7 separate regions of the Homo sapiens genome follow, and all the other regions are linked to region 1. Evidence: promoter capture Hi-C in 16 types of primary human blood cells and fetal thymus (Javierre and others, 2016). All regions are on one chromosome and are shown on one strand. Each heading gives the region's core, a stretch centred on a gene start or on the middle of the fragment in contact. The rest is flanking DNA. Distances are from core to core; before and after follow the strand shown.

Region 1 (2,700 bases), core at 147-2,646:
AAATATAAGGGGCGCGCTAAAGGGTTCCCAGGATCCCTTCCAACTCTAAATTCCTGCGATGCCTGGGGCTCCGGGGAGGTATTTTGCGGTAGTCAGAGTCCGAAGATCCTAGAATGTAGTTTGAGCTGGGGCTAAGGACAGGGGATTGAAAAGTCGAGGCGGTGGACCTGGCGCAGGATGAACAAGACTGGGAGACTTCCAACAGTTTCCTCCTCGACAAGCAGGTCACAGGACAATGTCTGGAGGACTTCTATCCCCCTTTCTTGTTTCTGCCACCCCCTCCCCTGCAGCTCTGCACTCTCTCTAGTCCCGCCTTCCTGGCCCTCGTTCAGCCTGTTTTAGTTTAGAATCGCTGCCCGGTGGTCACTCAAGGCTGCTAACCTCTGCTGTAAGGAATTAAGCTTCCAAGAGCATATCTAAGAAGGAGGGCGGAAGGAAAGGGACCGAGTGCCTCCACATGTCAGGACAGACCATGAAAGAGAAGCCAGGAAGTCCAACAAAACCAGCACTGGTCTTTATTGAGGTGTCAGGGTAGAGTGGCAGGAGCACAGCCTAAGGACATGAAGGTCAGAGTTTCTCAGAGAGGAGGGGCTGGGTCCCTGAGCTAGGAGGAGGGCGGTGGGTGACTCGGGAGCTCATGAGACTTCAGGAAGTCCCTGTACTTGGCCAGGAAAGGGTTGGCCAGAGTGTTCAGCTCTTGCCGAAGCTCCTGCAGAGCCTTGTCTCGCTCTTGGGGCTCCCCTGTCACCTGCTGCCTGTAATAGTTGATGTAGAAGTTCATCCAGTCCTCCACCACAGTCACCATGTCTTCTTCAGAGACGAGAGGATCATTGAAGACCTGGGGGGTTGCGGAGAGGCAGTTGGCAAGGGAGAATGTGGTCAGCAATGGGATTCGGGAATACTAGAATAGTGCCACAGCACCAACTCTCACATTCTCTTTCCTCTGCATTGTATCCCGTGTCTCTCGTTGTTTCCATCAACTCCACCATTACTTCACCAGCTCCAATTATCCTCTTCCTCCACTTCCCCGGCACCCCCCAGTCTCCAGGCCAGTCCTTTGAAATGGAAAGCTTGGACTCACCTGCTGATTCAGCAGAACGCTGAACTCCTTCAATCCTGCGGAAATGAGATCCTTATTGGCCTTAAGAAGAGCCATCTGCCTGGGTAGAGAAAAGGGTAGAATTTACATATCTGTTTCCCTCCTCACTGGGTATTTCCCCCAACCCACTTCCTCCCCTTAAAAATCCCTCCTGCCCTGCAGGGCTATCTCCTTTCCAAAACCTTTCACATCCTGCCCTGCTCTGAGGTCACGATTTTCCCAGGTTGGGCTCACCTTCAGGTCTAACAGGCTGTATATGTCTCACCCACACTCTTGAGGGTGCGTGAATCTCTCTGTGCCAAGCTATAGATGTAGGCAAGGAGTCAAGTGTCAGCCTAAGATAGAAACGCCCTGCATCTAGGTCCTGAAGGAGGGTGATAGGTCATTCTAGGGAGGAGAAGAAGGGAGAGGCTTCCCTGAAGGTAGAAAGATAACAAGGCCAAAAAAAAAAAAAAAAAAGATAAATGAGGAAACCCAGGAAATGCAAGAAGGCAAGAGCCAAACCAGGGGCATGTTCCTGCTTTTTGCCCCATATTTCAGTATCCAGGCTCGAAATGCTATGGAAATTGACGTTTACTGAGCCCTATTACATGACAGAGGCTTTTGTGTAATCACAACGATGTGATCGCAATGATTCTCCCAATTCGGAGATGATGTATTAATAGCAGCTTGCATTACATTTATTCATTTGTGCCAAGCACTGTTTCAAACATGTACAAAATATTTATCCTATAAAATTTCTTTTTAGACACATTTTGCAGATAAGCCACCTGTAAGCGTGTGGACTGAACTCCACCACGCTGTGCTCCATAAGAATGGAGATAAATAGCCGGGCGTGGTGGCGGGCACCTGTAGTCTCAGCTACTTGGGAGGCTGAGGCACGAAAATCGCTTGAACCCAGGAGGCAGAGGTTGCAGTGAGCCAAGATCACACCACAGCACTCCAGCCTGGGTGACAGGGCGAGACTCCATCTCAAAAGAAAAAAAAGAATGGAGATGGATTTGTCTTGTTTACTACCCTGTCAACAGGTACCCAATAAAGCAGAAATACTCTTTTTCCTCTTTTTAAATATTTTTCCAGATATTTTCCATTTTCAGTAGATGTTTCTCAAATTTCAAAATCACTATATACTAATTGAAATAATTAAAACAATACAAAAACGTACACTGAAAAACTGAATCATTTTTGCCCCCTCCAAAGTAACCAGCATTAAACATTGTATATTTCCTGTCACTTTTTTTTTCCATTCAAAACCCAACATTCATAGGTGCCTATACACTCATAAAGCTTTGTTGATTTGCCTTTTTGGTTGTAGCATTTTTTAATCAATATACAGCAAAACTGACTTCCTTTTGGTGTACAGTATATTAAATTTTTTTTTTTTGAGAGGGAGTCTCCCTCTGTGGCCCAGGCTGGAGTGCAGTGATGCGATCTCAGCTCACTGCAAACTTTACCTCCCAGGTTCAGGCGATTCTCCTGCCTCAGCCTCCCAAGTAGCTGGGATTACAGGCGTGCATCACCACGCCTAGCTAATTTTTGTATTTTAGTAGAGATGGGGTTTCACCATGTTGGCCAGGCTAGTCTCGAACTCCTGACCTCAA
Region 2 (2,700 bases), core at 176-2,675, 230 kb before region 1:
GAAGACAGGTACACACACATGCATTTCTGCCTGTATAGTTCTCTTTCACCTTTTTCTTTCTATCTTAGTACATCTGTATATTCCATTTAATGCAAGTGAAAGCAAAGAAAAATCTCTAAGTGTTCAATTGGACTGAAAAAGGGCATGTGCAAAGAAAAATATTGAATAAAACTTTATAAACAATGATTCAGGATTTTAAAAGTATGGCATTTAAGTATACCCCCATATAATCTTTATTATAACTGTCATAGTACACCAGTAGCTACAAAAAGCAGGAAAGAATATAAAATAGTAACCATGAGAATATTACCAATATTATTAGAAGTTTAAGTTCTCTGGAAAATTGATATAAAGTATATTTATAATCTTTCAGATATGAGTTTTCACTTTTCTCTGATATCTGTGAAGATGTTTTTATTTTTAACACATCAAATAATATTCAAGATTACTACTTCATTGTACTATAAAGGTATGCCAGTATTTTAAATAACTGACCAGTGTTTTTCTACTTAAGGAGCAATTGATGTAATAAATAAATTCAGAATATTCCTCTTTTACTTTAGTATAGAATACTAATGCCCTAAATATGTACTATATGTTTACACATATTACTGTTTAATGATTCAAACACAAAGAGCCTCTTTTAGATTTTCTTCATGTATTTTACATTTGCCATTAAATTTCCAAGAAAATAAGTTGATATTAATGATGTTCACCTACTATAGAACGACCTCTTACAGCTCTGATGCAGAAAAAATAGACTATATGTTTTTATATAAACACTAGGCATTAAGGTATAACAACTAATCTGAGAATTAAATTATGATTTGCTTTATACAAATTTCAAATGTTTTCAATACAAATAACATGCTCACTGAATAATTACTTGTCCAAACATCAATGCTTTTGCTCATTTGAAACACATAACAAAATAAGTAACTGCTTTGGCTTTAGAGTAATCCTCCATAACAAATACTCTTATTTAATTTTAAAGTGGGGATCTGTGCTTTAGTCCTTTTTTGTGTAAGTCCTGACACATTCAGATTTGAGTTCTGATTAAATACTTCCTCCCATTTATTCAATCTGTAAAGTCGGTTTCCCTATAAACTCTATGGTGATTTTTAAGTTCTAAATTTTGGATAAAACTCTTTTCACATTTACTACAACTATAGAAATTCTCTAGTATGAATACTTTTATGTCGAGTAAGGGTTGAGCATCGATTAAATAATTTGCCACATTCTTTACATTTGTAGGGTTTCTCTCCAGTATGAATCATCTGATGTCGTCTAAGGTTTGAAGACCGGTTAAAGGAGATGCCACAATCCTTACATATATATGGTTTCATTCCAGTATGAGTTATCTGATGCACAGAAAGACATGAGGAATGAGAGAAAGATTTGCTACATGCTTTACATTTGTAAAGTTTTACTCCAGTATGAATTCTCTGATGTTTAGTAAGGGATGAACTACAGTTAAAGGCTTTGCCACATTCTTTACATATGTAGGGTTTCTCTCCGGTATGAATTCTTTGATGTTGAGTAAGGCGTGAACTACAATTAAAGGCTTTGCCACATTCTTTGCATTTATAGGGTTTTTCTCCAGTATGAATTCTCTGGTGGACAATAAGACTTGAGGAACGAGAAAAAGATTTGCTACATGATTTACATTTGTAAAGTTTTTCTCCGGTATGAATTCTCTGATGTTTAGTTAGGTACGACCTACAGTTAAAGGCTTTGCTGCATTCCTTACATTTATAGGGTTTCTCTCCAGTATGAATTCTCTCATGCTGAGTAAGGGCTGAAGACACTTTAAATGATTTACCACATTCTTTACATTTGTAAGGTTTCTCTCCAGTATGAATTCTCTGATGCACAAGAAGATTTGAAGAATGAGTAAAACATTTGCTACACGCTTTACATTTGTAAAGTTTTTCTCCAGTGTGAATTCTCTGATGTCTAGTAAAATATGAACTAGAATTGAAGGCTTTGCCACATTCTTTACATTTGTATGGTTTCTCTCCAGTATGAATTATTTGATGTTGAGTAAGGTGTGAACGATGGTTAAAGGCTTTGTCACATTCTTTACATTTGTAAGGTTTCTCTTCATTATGGATTATCTTATGTTTTCTTAGACTTGACAATTTACTAAGGATTTTCTCACCATTATTACATCTGTGTGACTTTTCTCCAATATGGATTCTCTGAGGCTGAGTATGTTTTGATGACTGGATAAAAGTTTCTATACACTTATTACATTTGGCAGACTTCTCTTGAATAAAGATACTCTGATGGACATGGTTGGTGCATTCATGAAAGGCTTTCTCACATTTTTTACGTTTGCAATGGTTATGTAGAAAATGAGTTTTCTGATGTCTTCTGGGGCTTATGCCTTGGCTTAATGTTGTATCAGATTTATTGTACTGATTTTTCTCTGCAACACAAATATACTGGTAATTATTTAGGGTATAGTCCTGCCTAAAGGCTGTCAAAGTTTTATTATGTGTGTGATATTTTCCCAAATTATCTATTCCTTGACATTGATTAAGCAATGATGAATGAATGAAGACCTTTCTATATTGATCACAGGCAGAACGAGGTGTTATTTGTTGGTGAAACAAACTTTTAACAAAGATCCATCAAATTGATCATATTTAGAAATCACCTCCTCGTTTTTAAATCTCTCCTTTTCAGAAATATTTG
Region 3 (2,745 bases), core at 14-2,513, 210 kb before region 1:
TAAAATGGGCCAGGCGCAGTGGCTCACGCCTGTAATCCCAGCACTTTGGGAAGCTGAGACGGGTGGATCACCTGAGGTCAGGTGTTCAAGACCAGCCTGGTCAACATGGTGAAACCCTGTCTCTATCAAAAAAATATAAAAATTAGCTGGGCGTGGTGGTGGGTGCCTGTAATCCCAGCTACTTGGGAGGCTGAGGCAGGACAATCATTTGAATCCAGGAAGCGGAGGTTGCAGTAAGCCAAAATCGCGCCATTGCACTCCAACCTGGGTGACAAGAGCAAGACTCCATCTTAAAAAAAAAAAAAAAAAGAATATTATTAAAATGGGCATGTTACCCAAAGTGACCTATAGATTTAACGCAATTTCTATCAGAATACCAATGACATTCTTCACAAAAATAGAAAAAAAAAAAAAAAACTAAATGTACATGGAACCACAAAATACCCTGAATAGCCAAAGCAATCCTGAGCAAAAGGAACAAAGCAGGCTCAAGGCATCACACTACCTGACTTCAAAATTTACTACAAAGCTACAGTATCCCAAACAGCATTATACTGGCATTAAAGCAAACACATAGACCAATATGCCCAATGAGTCCATAAATAAATTCATGCTCCTAAAGCTGACTGATTTTCAACAAAGATGCCAAGAACACACTTTGGGGAAAAGACAATCTCTTTAATAAACGGTGCAGGAAAAATTGAATATCCATATACAGAAGAATAAGACTAGACCCCTAACCCTCATCATATACAAAAACCAACTCAAAATGGATTATAGACTTAAATGTAATGCCCTAAACTATGAAACTATTAGATGAAAACAGGGCAAATACTTTACAACATCGGACTTGGAAATTCCGACTTCAAAGCAAAGGCAACCTAAGCAAAAATAGGCAAATGAGATTACATCAACCTAAAAGACTTTTGCATATGAAATGAAATAACAGAGTGAAGAGACAACCTAGACAATGGGAGAAAACATTTGCAAACTATACATATGACAAGAGGTTAATATTGAGTATATAAGAAATTTGAAATCTCAAAATAAAACAAACATACAATCCAATTTAAAAATGTGCCACAGACCTTCATAGACATTAGTGAAAAGAAGACATACAAATGGCCAAAAGGTGCATAAACAGATGCTCAACTTCACTAATCATCAAGGGAATGCAAATACAAACCACAATGAGATACCACCACACTCCAGTTAAAATGACTATAATCAAAAAGACAAAAAATATAACTAAAACAAGTATTGGTGAGGATGTGAAGAAAAAGGAACACATATATACTGTTGATGGGATTGTAAAGTAGTATGGCCACTATAAAAGAGTATGGAGGTTCCTGAAAAATTAAAAATACAGCTGTCATATGATTCAGCAATTCCACTATTGGGTATATATCCAAAAGAAAGGAAATCAACGTGTCAAAAACATAGCTGCATTCCCATGTTTACTGCAGCACTCTTTATAACAGCCAAGATATGAAATCAATCCAAATGTACACCAAGAGATAAATGGATAAAGAAAATGTGGTGTAAATGCACAATGAATTACTATTCAGCCATTAAAAAAGAATAAAATCCTGTCCTTTGCAATAACATGGATGAACCATGAGATATCATGTTAAGTGAATAAGCCATATACAGAAAGATAAACCCTTCATGATCTTACTCAAATGAGTAACCTGAAAAGAAAGAAAGAAAAAAAGAAAGAAAGAGAGAGAAAGAAAAGAAAAGAGAAAAGAAAAGAGAAAAGAAAGGGCAGGCAGGCGGGCAGGGCACAGTGGCTCACACCTCTAATCCCAGCACTTTGCGAGGCCAAGAGGGGTGGATCATTTTAGTTCAAGAGTTCAAGACCAGTCTGGCCAATATGTTGAAACCCCGTCTCTACTAAAAATACAAAAAAATTAGCTGGGCATGGTGGTGCATGCCTGTAATCACAGCTACTCAGGAGGCTGAGGCAGGAGAATACCTTGAACCCAGGAGGCAGAGGTTGCAGTGAGCTGAGATCACGCCACTGCACTCCAGCCTGGGCAACAGAGCAAGACTCTGTCTTAAAAAAAAAAAAGAAAAAGAAAAGGAAAAAAAAGCTGATATAAGCAGAGTATAACAGTGGTTACCAGAGACTGAAGGGGGAGGAATAGAAAGAGGTTGGTTAACAGGTATAAAGTTACAATTACACAGGAGAAGTAAGTTCTGGTGTTCTATTACACAGTACAGTAACAATGGTTAATAGAAGGGTATTGCATATTACAAAATAGCTATAAAAGGCCAGTCACAGTGTAACATGCCTATAATCCCTGTACTTTGGGAGGCGGAAGCAGGAGCACCACTTAAGGTCAGGAGTTCAAGGCCAGCCTGGACAATGTAGTGAGACCCTATCTCTGCAAAAATTTTTTAAAATTAGCCAGGCACGGTGGCATATGCCTGTAGTCCTAACGACTTGGGGAGCTGAGGCAGGAGGATCACTTGAGCCCAAGAGTTTGAAGCTATGGTGAACTACAATTGTGCCACTGCACTTCAGCCTGGGTAACACAGTGAGATCCTGTCTCTACAAACAATAAAAGCTAAAAAAAAAAAAAAAAGTTAGAAGAGAGACTTTTGAATGTTCTCACCACTAAGAATTACCAAATACATGAGGTAATGCACTAAACATCCTGATATGATCATTATACAACACACACACATATATATAATTGTACTCCGTAAATATGTACAATTAACATTGTATCAATTTAA
Region 4 (2,803 bases), core at 131-2,630, 130 kb before region 1:
GGTGAATGTTTAGTTGGAAAAACTAAAAACTGTAATGGCTGCATAGGGTCAATTCATTTTACTTATGCTTGTTGAATTTTTTCTTCAATTAATTGAAGTTCCTCTAATGCCTTTTTGGACAGGGAGCATTTACTGTTTAAGTTAGAATCACCTCATAAGGTAGAAAAAAGGTGAGACATAGCATAGGTAGGAATGCCTAAGGTTGGATGAATCCAATTAATGTCTCCCAATAATTTTTGAAAGTCATTTAAAGTTTTTAAATTATTTCTTCGAATTTGAACCTTTTGAGGCTTAATAGTACTTTGTTCTACCTTCATTTCTAAATATTGAAAGGGAGTAGAGGTTTGAATTTTATCGGGGGCTATGATTAATCCTGCTGCAGTTACAGCCTTTTCTAACTCTTTGTAGCATAGTATTAATTCCTACCTAGTTTCAGCTGCACATAAAATATCATCCATGTAATGGATAATATAACATTTTTTAAATTGTTCTCTAACTGGCTTAATAGCTTTTCCGACATAAGTTTGACAAATAGTCAGGCTATTTAACATGCCTTGTGGTAATACTTTCCAATGGTATCTGTCCACTGGTTATTTGTTATTTATAGCAGGAACAGTAAAAGCAAATTTTTCATAATCTTGGAAGCTAAAGGAATGGTAAAGAAGCAGTCTTTTAAATCTATCACTATTAGAGGCCAGTATTTTGGGATCATTGTTGGAGAGGGCAGCCCTGGTTGCAGTGCACCCATGGGTTTAATTTTAACTGCCCTCAAATCCGTTAACATTCTCCATTTCCTTGATTTTTTCTTAATAACAAACACAAGAGAGAGTTCCAAGGGAGAAAGCAGGCTCTATGTGTCCCTTTTGCAATTGTTCCTCTGCTAATTTTTTAAAAGCCTCCAGTTTTTTCTGTTTCAGCAGCCATTGCTCCACCCAAACTGGTTTGGCAGTTAGCCAAACAAGAGGAATGGGAGAGGGCGGCTCAGCAATGGCCACATCTAAAAATGATACCCTAATACAGTTTGATCTGTTTGCCCTTTTAGTTCTAAAGGTTCTGGTTGGCCACTTTCATTCTTTCGTAATCCTTTTGCAGGGAGATATCCCATATTTTTCATCATTTGTTTACTGTTATTACGATACTGATCCATAGGAATAGAAATTTCAGCACCCCATTGTTGCAATAAGTCTCTACTCCATAGATTGACAGGAATAGGTGTAATAATAGGTCAAATTGTCCCTTCCTGGCCATCCGGCCCCTGACATGGTAAAATCAAGAAACTTTGAAAACCTTCTGAAGCAGCTCCTACTCCAACAATACTGATGGATGCCTTTTGTTTGGGCCAGTGTCGGGGCCATTGATTTAAAGCAATAATAAGAACATCGGCTCCAGTATCTACTAACCCTTCAAAGTCCTTTCCCTGAATGGTTACTGTACAAATAGGTCTCTTATCAGACACTTGATTAACCCAATATACAGCTTTTCCTGCTGGGTTAGTACTACCAAAGCCTCCTGTTCTTTTTACAGTGCTGCTTCCCAGTTTTGTATAAGGTAACAGCAACAACTGAGCAATTCTTCCTCCTGGAGAAGCAGACCATGGAGTTGAGGAACTAATAACTAGTTGAATCTCTCTGGCATAATCAGAATCAATTATTCCTGTATGCACAGTGACACCTTTTAAATTTAAGCTAGACCTTCCAAGCAATAGACCAACTGTTCATGAGGGTAAAGGGCCCCCAACTCCCATGGGGACCTTCTTTGGCAGCTCCCCAGGAAGTAAGGAGACAGGCATTGTGCTGCAGAGATCTACGGCAGCACTGCCTGCTGTGGCAGGGGACAATTGTTGTACGTTTGTAAGGCACTGACTGTGCCAGATATTCCTCGGTTCGTTGAGGGGCCTGAGGCAGGCTCCTCTTCCCATTTCCTGAAAGAGGTTGCCCATCTTTACTAAATTTAGAATGATACTGATTTGCCCAGTGATTGCCTTCTTACACTGGGGGCATACACCGGAACTTTTCTGTTGATTTATGGCAATAGTTTTTGCCTTTTGATTTCCTTATCTACATGCCTTTTGTGTGTGTCCAAATTGCCCACAATTAAAGCAAGAGCCTGAGAATCGGGGCATATTTTTTCCCACCTTTAGTCCAGCCATAGCTTGAGCTAAAAGAGTAGCCTTGTGTAAGTTACCCCCAATGCCATCACCAGCCTTAATATATTCAGCCAAGTGAGCCTTCCCTCTGGTAGGTCTAATAGCATTTTGACACTCTGTATTAGCATTATCATATGCAAGAAGCTGTATTACAACATCTTGAGCTGTTTTGTCAGTTATGGCCTTATACACAGCCTCCTGGAGCCAAGCAATAAAATCAGTATATGGTTCTTTAGGTCCTTGTTGGACAGAACTGAAAGAAGGATATTTTTCTCCTGTAACATTTATTCTCTCCCATGCCCATAAGTGCACCATGCGTAACTGAACAATGGCAACGTTCTCCATTACTGCTTGATTTTCTAATCGACCCCAATTAGGGCCAACTCCCATTATCTGTTCAAAACAAACGCACAGGTGGCTGTGCTTGTGTGTTTTCCCTTGCCTGGGTTTGTGCTTTATCAGCCCACCAGGTTTTAAACTGTAAGTACTGAGATGGAGTGAGAGCAGATTTTGTTAAAGTATCCCAGTCATATGATATTAATCTATTCTCAAGAGCCACATTTTTTAGTAAACTTTGTACAAAAGGAGAATTTGGCCCATATTGACTAATGGCTTGCTTAAATTCCTTAAATAACTTAAAAGGAAAAGTAGCCCAAT
Region 5 (2,700 bases), core at 185-2,684, 150 kb before region 1:
AATGTCCTGCAGGCTTGGCACACTTCAGTCTTCTTGAAATGCATGTGGATCCCAGGGTACCAACAAAACACTGTGTATGGCCTGGAATAGATTTTCCATTTTGTCTCATACTTTTCTTTGGTCATTCAGATATACAGGTTTTCTCCAAGACATGTCTGGCACAGAATGGAGAAGTTTACGTCTTCCCAGTTTTGCTTATTTTAGGTATTGGAACCAAGAAATGTCACCGTCTTGAGAGGGTCTAGAGGCAGTGGTAGCATTCGAGGTGGTAGCCAGGACCGCCACACACCCATCAGCCCAACTCTTCTTCATGCCCCTATTCTTGAGACCCTGGGCAATTGCCTTTGACACCATGATTCCTCTTTTTTGTCCCAAGGTGAAACTCTTCCAAGGAATCCCCATTCTTGTAGGAAGCTCTGGATTTCCTGATCTCTCCAAGGACTGGCCTGGAAGGGACAGAGAAATGCGAATGCCCTTTGAAACTACTCACAGCGTATAGTTGAGTGGTTTCCAAAGACCCCCTCTATGCTGCCAAGCCCTAAGCATGCTCTCGTATCTGTTGTTGGGAGATAATAAAACCTTAAATGAGAAGAGCAAGAACCAGGATCCCTGGGAGAAGTAACGTCTAATCCTTAAACTCATGGACATGTCAGGAAGCACCTGTCTGGATATTTATCATGCTCAATAATGGATAAAGACACCTGAACAGTGAATGAATGAAAGGATTTTCAGGCTAAGTATTTCTGCCCTGGAAGGGTTCTTCTTTTGTTTCAGGCATAGTGATCTGCCCTGAGAAGAGAGCTTGGGTCACCTTCTGGTCACCAGGTGTTGCTTGGCAAGAGCCCCATATATAATGAGCCATAGACCCATCATCTATTGAGCTGCCTTTGTTGCCCAGAATAAAAACTCAGGGCTACCAAAAGTGACTGAGGCTAGAACAGAGAGATTGTGGGTTGGTGTGGGAAGAGAGCTGATTCAAAAAATTAAAGAAAAAGGTATTCTAACATAAGACAATCTCTATTCATGCCTTGCCTACGAGTTGATTAAATATGGGAAATCATAGTACTGAAAATAATTATCTAAAATTCTAACTACCAGGAACTGAGCTACAATATTTGTGTCACTGTAAAGTAATAGAGAATTTATCTCAGTCCAAAATTAATAACAAAGAATTTCAAAATCAATTTAGAGCTTTGTTTTCTGTGTATGTGAAAGAACAAGGTCCAGACTCCCTCCAGCATCAAACAAATAGAAAGTCAGATCCACTATGTGACCCAAATATGTCCAGACCCTGGAAAGTGTCTGACAGGAGCACAGGATAGTGGTCTGGAGGCTGAATCCAAGGGAGGGGACCCCCTGGCTACCCCAGCTCAGAGCCTGCAAAGAGCATCCAGGAGGGAGTGCAGGCAGGCAGGATCCAGGCAGAGCATGGAGATCCCTGAGTTTAGGAAACAGGGTTGAGAATATAAGGAGAAAGGCAGCTCTGCAAGACACAGGGCTGAGTACCAGAGAGTAGGAGGCAGTGGCTGAACTAGAGGTAAGACTGAAGAGTAGAAGGTGGAGGTCATTGAACCATTGGCGGATACAAGGGTAATTACCAATGAAACAAATTTGTCCCAGTGAAAAAGGGAATAGGAACCCTGATTTTTTCTTTCTGAGCATTTTTTTAAAGAAAAAATATCCTTATGAGTTTCTTCTCTGTCCCTTTGTGATATATGGAAGTCTCTTCAAAAGTTAAGTAACCTCTTGCCAGCTTCCAACCAGGACTATCTTTCTCAAGGGCCTGGGAGCCATCTCTGAAATGGAATCATTAAGGGAGAGAGTTCCTGTGAGAGGGTAGGAGCCCAACTTCCGCCAGTGCCTGGCTCTAACTTACTAACCTACTCTTGCCATAAATTGTGAGACACTGGTCTTTTCTTGTCATAAATCCGATTAGCGAGCACTGTGGCTACCCTCGAGGGACATATAAAAATAGTGCTGTCAAGTCACTTCCTTGAGGACTGGTTGCTGTTTATCTCAGGAACACGCAAGCACTGGTTGTAACTGCCTGCCTATACACAAAGGTGAGATTTCCTTCTTTCTTGCCATGCGCTAAGTTATTGTCTGTTTTGTGCATCACAATGTGGTTTAATGATTCTTCAATGAAACTGTTTTCTTTCTCCTCTGTCTTTCTGGAGAGATTTCCTGGGTTTGCAGGAGACTTTGTTGTTAATCATATTCTTCACCACAGACAGTGACATCACTATGCTAGAGCGGAGCTCAAGACCTGAGTGGCAGCATCTCTCCTTGCTGATGCAGCCAAGGCCCCAGGGCCCAGGAAGGGATGCCACCACCTGGAGAAGAGCCTCAGATGGGAACTAATATCAGTAACTTGATATTTCTGCTTGGATAATGGACAAACTAGAGATAGCTCAGTTTAATCTATTCACAACCAAGCATTTCAGTTCTGGGGAAGACAAGACTAGACATATATGTCTCTATTCTTCCCAATAAGTACAACTAAAATCCCTGGACATTATACATAAAACAAAATGGAGAAAGCTCTAAAAGGTACATTATTGGCCCTGCCAGGTGAAGAAAAAGAGGTCCTATGGCTTTGGGTCTAAGGATATGCTGCAGAATGTTTACTAAATTCAGGACAGTATGACATGGCCCTGAACAAGTAGTCAGTTTTTCAAATATTTGAGCCATACTTGTAAG
Region 6 (2,700 bases), core at 96-2,595, 170 kb before region 1:
CGCGCCTGATTGGACAGGCTCGACAACGGCGCCGCTGAATGGATAGGGCTCCAGGTCCCGCCCCCTTACCCCCGAGTGACAGGAGATGCGATCACAGGTGTGGCTGAATGAGGCCTGAATGAATGATTGTCTGCAGCCCTTTTCAGGCAGGGCTGACTCCCTGTGCTGGGACCTGGGGCTGCTCCGGACATTGGTATTTAACTTTGCTCATAAGATTATATCAATTTATGAGTAATATAGGTAATATGTAAAATTGAAAATTATATAATAACGATTCTTTTAAAATTTCAGATTTCATAACCTTCATGGCCTCTGGTCCCTTGTGGAGGCAGCATGAGATTTGAAAATGGAGGGAGTCCTCTAAGTCAGAAATGTCCAATAGGAATAAAATTGAGCCGCATGTGTCATTTACAGTAGCCTAGTGGCATCATGAAAGGAAAACAGGTAAAATTGATGGTAATACCTTAACCCGATATATCCAAAATATTATCACTCAAATATGTGAGCAATATGAAATTATTAATGAAGACCACCAGAGAATGCTTCTTAAGTTTGGGGTACTAAATCTTGTAAAGTCACTCTGTATTTAAACTTCTAGCACATCTCAGTTCCAACCAGCTCTATCCAAAGAGCTCAGCAGCCCCACGTGGGCAGTGGCTTCCGCATTGAAGAGCAGATCTGAGGGCACTTGCGCGTCTAACCTCAGGGAAATCGAGGGCCTGGACCCCCTTTCCTGCCAGACGAGAGCGAACACCCTCATCCTGCCCATCTCTTTCCTCATGCCCAAGGGTGGGAGAGGCAGTGCCCAGTGAGAGAGCCAGGGCTGCAGTCAGGAGGTGTCCACAGGTCGACCACTGCTGCCCACCTGCTTCTGGGCAGGGCTCCCTCAGCCTTCCAAAGGTCAGACAGTGAATGAAGAGTGTCAGGCTTCAGGAGGAAACCCCTGACTTCAGATCTGTCTACAGCCTTGACCTCCAAAGTTTGGATGTGGAGGGAATAAAAGCAAATTTTTTTTATTTTGCAATTTGCCCTTGGCCCTGATGGTTAGGCTATGGCGGGCTGTTTCCTCCTATGGTGTGGGGACTGTGTGAGTTTAAGCACCAAGCATGTCAACATGCATTTCTGTATAATTTATCCCTATCCAACAAGAGGCCCCACTTTAAATAAAGGGAAAAGCAAATCAATACCTTATACAGTGCCTTCTGTTTGCCAGGTAACAACAAGTAGTGACCAACCTGTCATTTGAATCCTGGCAACCTGACTGCAGGTGTATGTATCAGTTAGCTATTGCTGCATTAAAAACCACCCTAAACCTTATTAGCTCATGATTGGGATGGTCAGTCATTTAGGCTGGACTCAACTGGGCCATTCTTCTGGTCTCAGCTGGGCTCCTTCAGGCGTGTGTGGTCAGCTGCTGGTTGACTAAGTGGCTCTGCTTCTGGGTGTCAGCTGGGGCACCTTGGTTTTCCTCCCCAGTGGGATCTCATCCTCCAGCAGGCTAACATGTGCTTGTTCTCATGGAGATGGCAGGGTTCTAAAAGAAAAAGCAGAAGCATTCAAGGCCTTATGTCCCTAGACCCCAAACTGTCACATTGCCATATTGATAGCTTTCTATTGCCCAGAGCAAATAAGGCCAGCCCAGATCCAAGCGTCAGGAAACAGATTCTGCCTCTATGTTGGAGCAGCTGTAAAAGCATATTCCAAAGGGCATGGACACCAGAGCCATTTTGCAGTCAGTATCATTCTGCCTTTTCTTACAGCAAGGTTTATATAACTGTTCCAAGTCAAGGAACATGTCCAAAGCACTACAGCTACTAAGTGGCTGGACTGGGACTCTGGATCAACTTTGCCTGACTCCAAAGCCCATGTACCTCCATAGACCTCACAACTCAAGCAGCTTCCCTAGGCCTTTGAGATCCTGAAGACTGACTCTTCTGCAATAGAATAAAGGTTCTTTTGAGATGCTCATCCTTCTAGTAGGATTATTCACAATTAGGAGTAATCCCCACCAGAGAATGCTTCTGAAATGTCTTGCAAACATTTAGATTAACTTGGGAAAATGGCTGATGGCTGAGTTTAAAAAATCAAGGCATAACTTTTTCATTTCTTACCATAGGAGAGATCTGAAAACACATATAATGCACGAACATGTGTGCAAATTATTTTCATCCCCGTGCGTTATTTGTAGTCTGATTATGATTTTTAACACAGACTAAATTAAACTACTGTTCCCGAAACAACGTTTTACTCTGAAAGCAAGAGACACAAAGGTAGATCTGCCGAGAAGACATTTCCTCCTGCCTCAATTTAGCCAAACAGCTGAGTACGTCTTAAAGTCAGCCTTCGATTTCTAACAAGTCAAGCTGTTTGCCAAGACCTCAATCAGATCATAAGAGTGCTTCAGCTACTTCATCATCCTAGAAGGTTGACCAGACAGATCGAAGCTCTGGGGGTGGAGTGGTGAGAGCACCCGCACTAGCAGGTGGGCAGCCATAGGTCCATAGATGAGAGTCATTCATTAGGTGGGGTGTTTTGGGGTCCTGACATTTATGACACAATTAATGTCTATATTACTAAATGTAAATTTTAAAACATTACAAATAATAAATCTACATATAAACTGAATATGTCAGCAATTACAATTATTGTTATTCATCATTATTCTAAGTGTGATCATTATTATTACCACAATTAGAAATA
Region 7 (2,700 bases), core at 186-2,685, 250 kb before region 1:
CATACTGATGCAAGAAGTGAGTTTCCATGGTCTTGGGCAGCTCTGCCCCTGTGGCTTTGCAGGGTACAGCCTTCCTCCCAGCTGCTTTCACAGGCTAGTGTTGAGTGTCTGCAGCTTTTCTAGGTGAAGAGTGCAAGCTGTTAGTGGTTCTACCATTCAGGGGTCTGGAGGGCAGTGGCCCTCTTCTCATAGCTCCACTAGGTGGGCCCTAGTAGGGACTCAGTGTGGGGGCTCTGACCCCTTCAGCACTGCCGTAGCAGAGGTTCTCCATGAGGGCCACATCCCTGCAGCAAACTTCTGCCTGGACATCCAGGCATTTCTATACATCCTCTGAAATCTAGGCAGAGGTTCTCAAACCTCAATTCTTGACTTCTGTGCACCTGCAGCTCAACACCAGGTGGAAGCTGCCATGGATTGGGGCTTGCAACCTCTGAAGCCATGGTCTGAGCTATACCTTGGCCCCTTTTAGTCATTCAAGTGGCTGGGACTCAGGGCACCAACTCCCTAGATTCCCCACAGTAGGGGAGCCTTGGGCCCAGCTTACAAAACCATTTTTTCTTCCTGGGCCTCCAGGCCTGTGATGGGAGGAGCTGCCGTGAATACCTCTGAAATGCTCTGGAGATATTTTCTCCATTGTCTTGGGGATTAACATACACCTCCTTGTTACTTATGAAAATTTCTGCAGCTGGCTTGAATTTCTTCTCAGAAAATGGGATTTTCTTTTCTATTGCATTTTCAGGCTGCAATTTTCCAAGCTTTTATGGTCCCCCTTCCTCATAAAACTGAATGCCTTTAAAAGCACCCAAGTCAGATCTTGAATGCTTCGCTGCTTAGGAATGTCTTCCACCAGATACCCTAACTCATCTCTCTCAAATTTAAAGTTCCAGAGATCTCTACAGCAGGAGCAAAATGTCACCAGTCCCTTTGGTAAAACATAACAAGAGTCACCTTTGCTTCAGTTTCCAAAAAGTTCCTTATTTCCATGTGAGACCACCTCAGCCTGGACTTTATCGCCCATATCACTACCAGCATTTTGGGCAAAGCCATTCAATAAGTCTCTAGGAAGTTCCAAACTTTCCCACATTTTCCTGTCTTCTTCTGAGCCCTCCAAATTGTTCCAACCTCTGCCTGTTACCCAGTTCCAAAGTCGCTTTTATATTTTTGGGTGTCTTTTCAGCAGTGCCCCACTCCTGGTACCAATTTACTGTATTAGTCCATTTTCACACTGCTGATAAATACATACTCAAGACTTGGCAATTTACAAGAGAATGAGGTGTAATGGACTTACAGTTCCACATGGCTGAGGAGGCCTCACAATCATGGCAGAAGGCAAGGGGGAGCAAGTCAGATCTTATGTGGATGGTGGCTGGCAAACAGAGAGAGCATGTGCAGGGAAACTCCCATTTTTAAAATCATCAGATCTCATGAGACTTATTCACTATTACAAGAACAGTACGGGGAAGACCTACCCCCATGATTCAGTTATCCTCCACTGCATCCCTCCCACAACATGTAGGAATTATGGGAGCTACAAGATGAGATTTGGGTGGAGACATAGAGCCAAACCATATCAGTTGGGGTAGACAACCCTGTGCTGTCAGTCATATATATGTATATCACATACAATTATGTACAGTATATAATACTTGATAATGATAATAAATGACTATGTTATTAATTTATGTATTTACTATACAACTTCCAGCCCCATAAGCTCCATTCATCGTAAGTGCCCTATACAGATGTACCATTTTTTATCTTTTATATTGTATTTTTTGCTGTACCTCCTCTATGTTTAGGTATCTTCAGATACATAAATATTTACCATTGTGTTTCAACTGCCTATAGCATTCAGTAGAGTAACATGCTTCACAGACTTGTAGCATAGGAGCAACAAGCTATACCATATAGCCTAGGTGTGCAATAGGGTCTACCATCTAGGTTTGTGTAAGTACACTCTATGCTGTTTGCAAAATGATGAAATGCCTAACAACACATATCTATGAACATATCCCCATTGATAAATAACACATGACTGTATATAAAGTCATGTCAGAAGACAAAATATTAATTAAAAGTCTTTCCACATTGAAAATCTCTGAATCAAAAGCTTTAAATGATAAATCTTATCAACATCTAATAAAATATTCATGCTAATTCTTCAAAGTAACTTCCAAAAATAGAAGCAACACTTCCCAATTTACTCTATGAGGCCAGGAGTGCCATGATACCAAAGCTGGAAAAAAGCATTGCAAGAAGACTAGAAAGAAAAATCCGTAATGACTACAGACACAGAAATCCTTATTAAATACTAGGAAATTTATTCCAGGAACATAATAAACATGATTATATACCATAGCCAAGTGAGATTTTATTTTCATAAATGCAATGTTAGCTTAATATCTAAAAGTCAATTAAGATAATACACAATATTACTTGAATACATGACAAAAAGAACATTTCGATAGACACAGAAAAACATTTGACAAAAATCTAACATACATTGTGATAAAAAAAAAAAAAACAGAATGCTACTAATAGACAAAAAAGTGAGTCCTGCTAAAAGCCATCTATAAAAACCTACAACTAGCATTATACTTGATGGTGAAAGACTGAGTACTTGACTGATAACTTTGGGAACAGGACCATAATTTCCACTTTTAGCACTCTATCCAACATTGTACTCCACCTCGGGAAATT

Evidence for each region. The method cuts DNA at HindIII sites, captures the fragments that hold promoters and counts their contacts. A CHiCAGO score of 5 or more calls a contact.
Region 2: a fragment that was not itself captured here is called in contact with the fragment with the promoter of AHSP in region 1 in 5 of 17 cell types (activated CD4 T cells, total CD8 T cells, fetal thymus and 2 more); the score reaches 7.2 in activated CD4 T cells.
Region 3: a contact is called between a fragment that was not itself captured here and the fragment with the promoter of AHSP in region 1, in 6 of 17 cell types (fetal thymus, total CD4 T cells, naive CD8 T cells and 3 more). The highest score is 7.0, in fetal thymus.
Region 4: a fragment that was not itself captured here is called in contact with the fragment with the promoter of AHSP in region 1 in 1 of 17 cell types (activated CD4 T cells); the score reaches 5.6 in activated CD4 T cells.
Region 5: a fragment that was not itself captured here is called in contact with the fragment with the promoter of AHSP in region 1 in 8 of 17 cell types (naive CD4 T cells, total CD8 T cells, total CD4 T cells and 5 more); the score reaches 9.2 in naive CD4 T cells.
Region 6: a contact is called between a fragment that was not itself captured here and the fragment with the promoter of AHSP in region 1, in 9 of 17 cell types (erythroblasts, neutrophils, activated CD4 T cells and 6 more). The highest score is 15.9, in erythroblasts.
Region 7: a contact is called between a fragment that was not itself captured here and the fragment with the promoter of AHSP in region 1, in 6 of 17 cell types (total CD4 T cells, naive CD4 T cells, M0 macrophages and 3 more). The highest score is 7.6, in total CD4 T cells.

The regions. Positions count from the first base shown.
Region 1 is chr16:31,526,596-31,529,295 of GRCh38, reverse strand. It overlaps AHSP (alpha hemoglobin stabilizing protein), which reads right to left and starts at 1,396. Exons shown (of 3, transcript NM_016633.4): 1 at 1,334-1,396; 2 at 1,082-1,160; 3 at 493-838. The coding sequence starts at 1,156. The coding sequence ends at 605. The HindIII fragment of the contact is 1,316 bases long and covers 1,073-2,388 here.
Region 2 is chr16:31,754,186-31,756,885 of GRCh38, reverse strand. All of the region lies in intron 4 of KRABD5 (KRAB domain containing 5), which reads right to left. Among named protein-coding and RNA genes, the nearest start is that of KRABD5, 42 kb to the right of the region's middle. The HindIII fragment of the contact is 3,312 bases long and covers 1-2,700 here.
Region 3 is chr16:31,734,082-31,736,826 of GRCh38, reverse strand. All of the region lies in intron 3 of KRABD5 (KRAB domain containing 5), which reads right to left. Among named protein-coding and RNA genes, the nearest start is that of KRABD5, 22 kb to the right of the region's middle. The HindIII fragment of the contact is 3,107 bases long and covers 1-2,745 here.
Region 4 is chr16:31,661,363-31,664,165 of GRCh38, reverse strand. No RefSeq gene overlaps it. Among named protein-coding and RNA genes, the nearest start is that of KRABD5, 50 kb to the left of the region's middle. The HindIII fragment of the contact is 3,144 bases long and covers 1-2,803 here.
Region 5 is chr16:31,678,370-31,681,069 of GRCh38, reverse strand. It overlaps the pseudogene RBM22P12. Among named protein-coding and RNA genes, the nearest start is that of KRABD5, 34 kb to the left of the region's middle. The HindIII fragment of the contact is 3,626 bases long and covers 1-2,700 here.
Region 6 is chr16:31,697,853-31,700,552 of GRCh38, reverse strand. No RefSeq gene overlaps it. Among named protein-coding and RNA genes, the nearest start is that of KRABD5, 14 kb to the left of the region's middle. RefSeq lists a silencer at 1-136. The HindIII fragment of the contact is 5,761 bases long and covers 1-2,700 here.
Region 7 is chr16:31,778,395-31,781,094 of GRCh38, reverse strand. No RefSeq gene overlaps it. Among named protein-coding and RNA genes, the nearest start is that of KRABD5, 67 kb to the right of the region's middle. The HindIII fragment of the contact is 1,355 bases long and covers 758-2,112 here.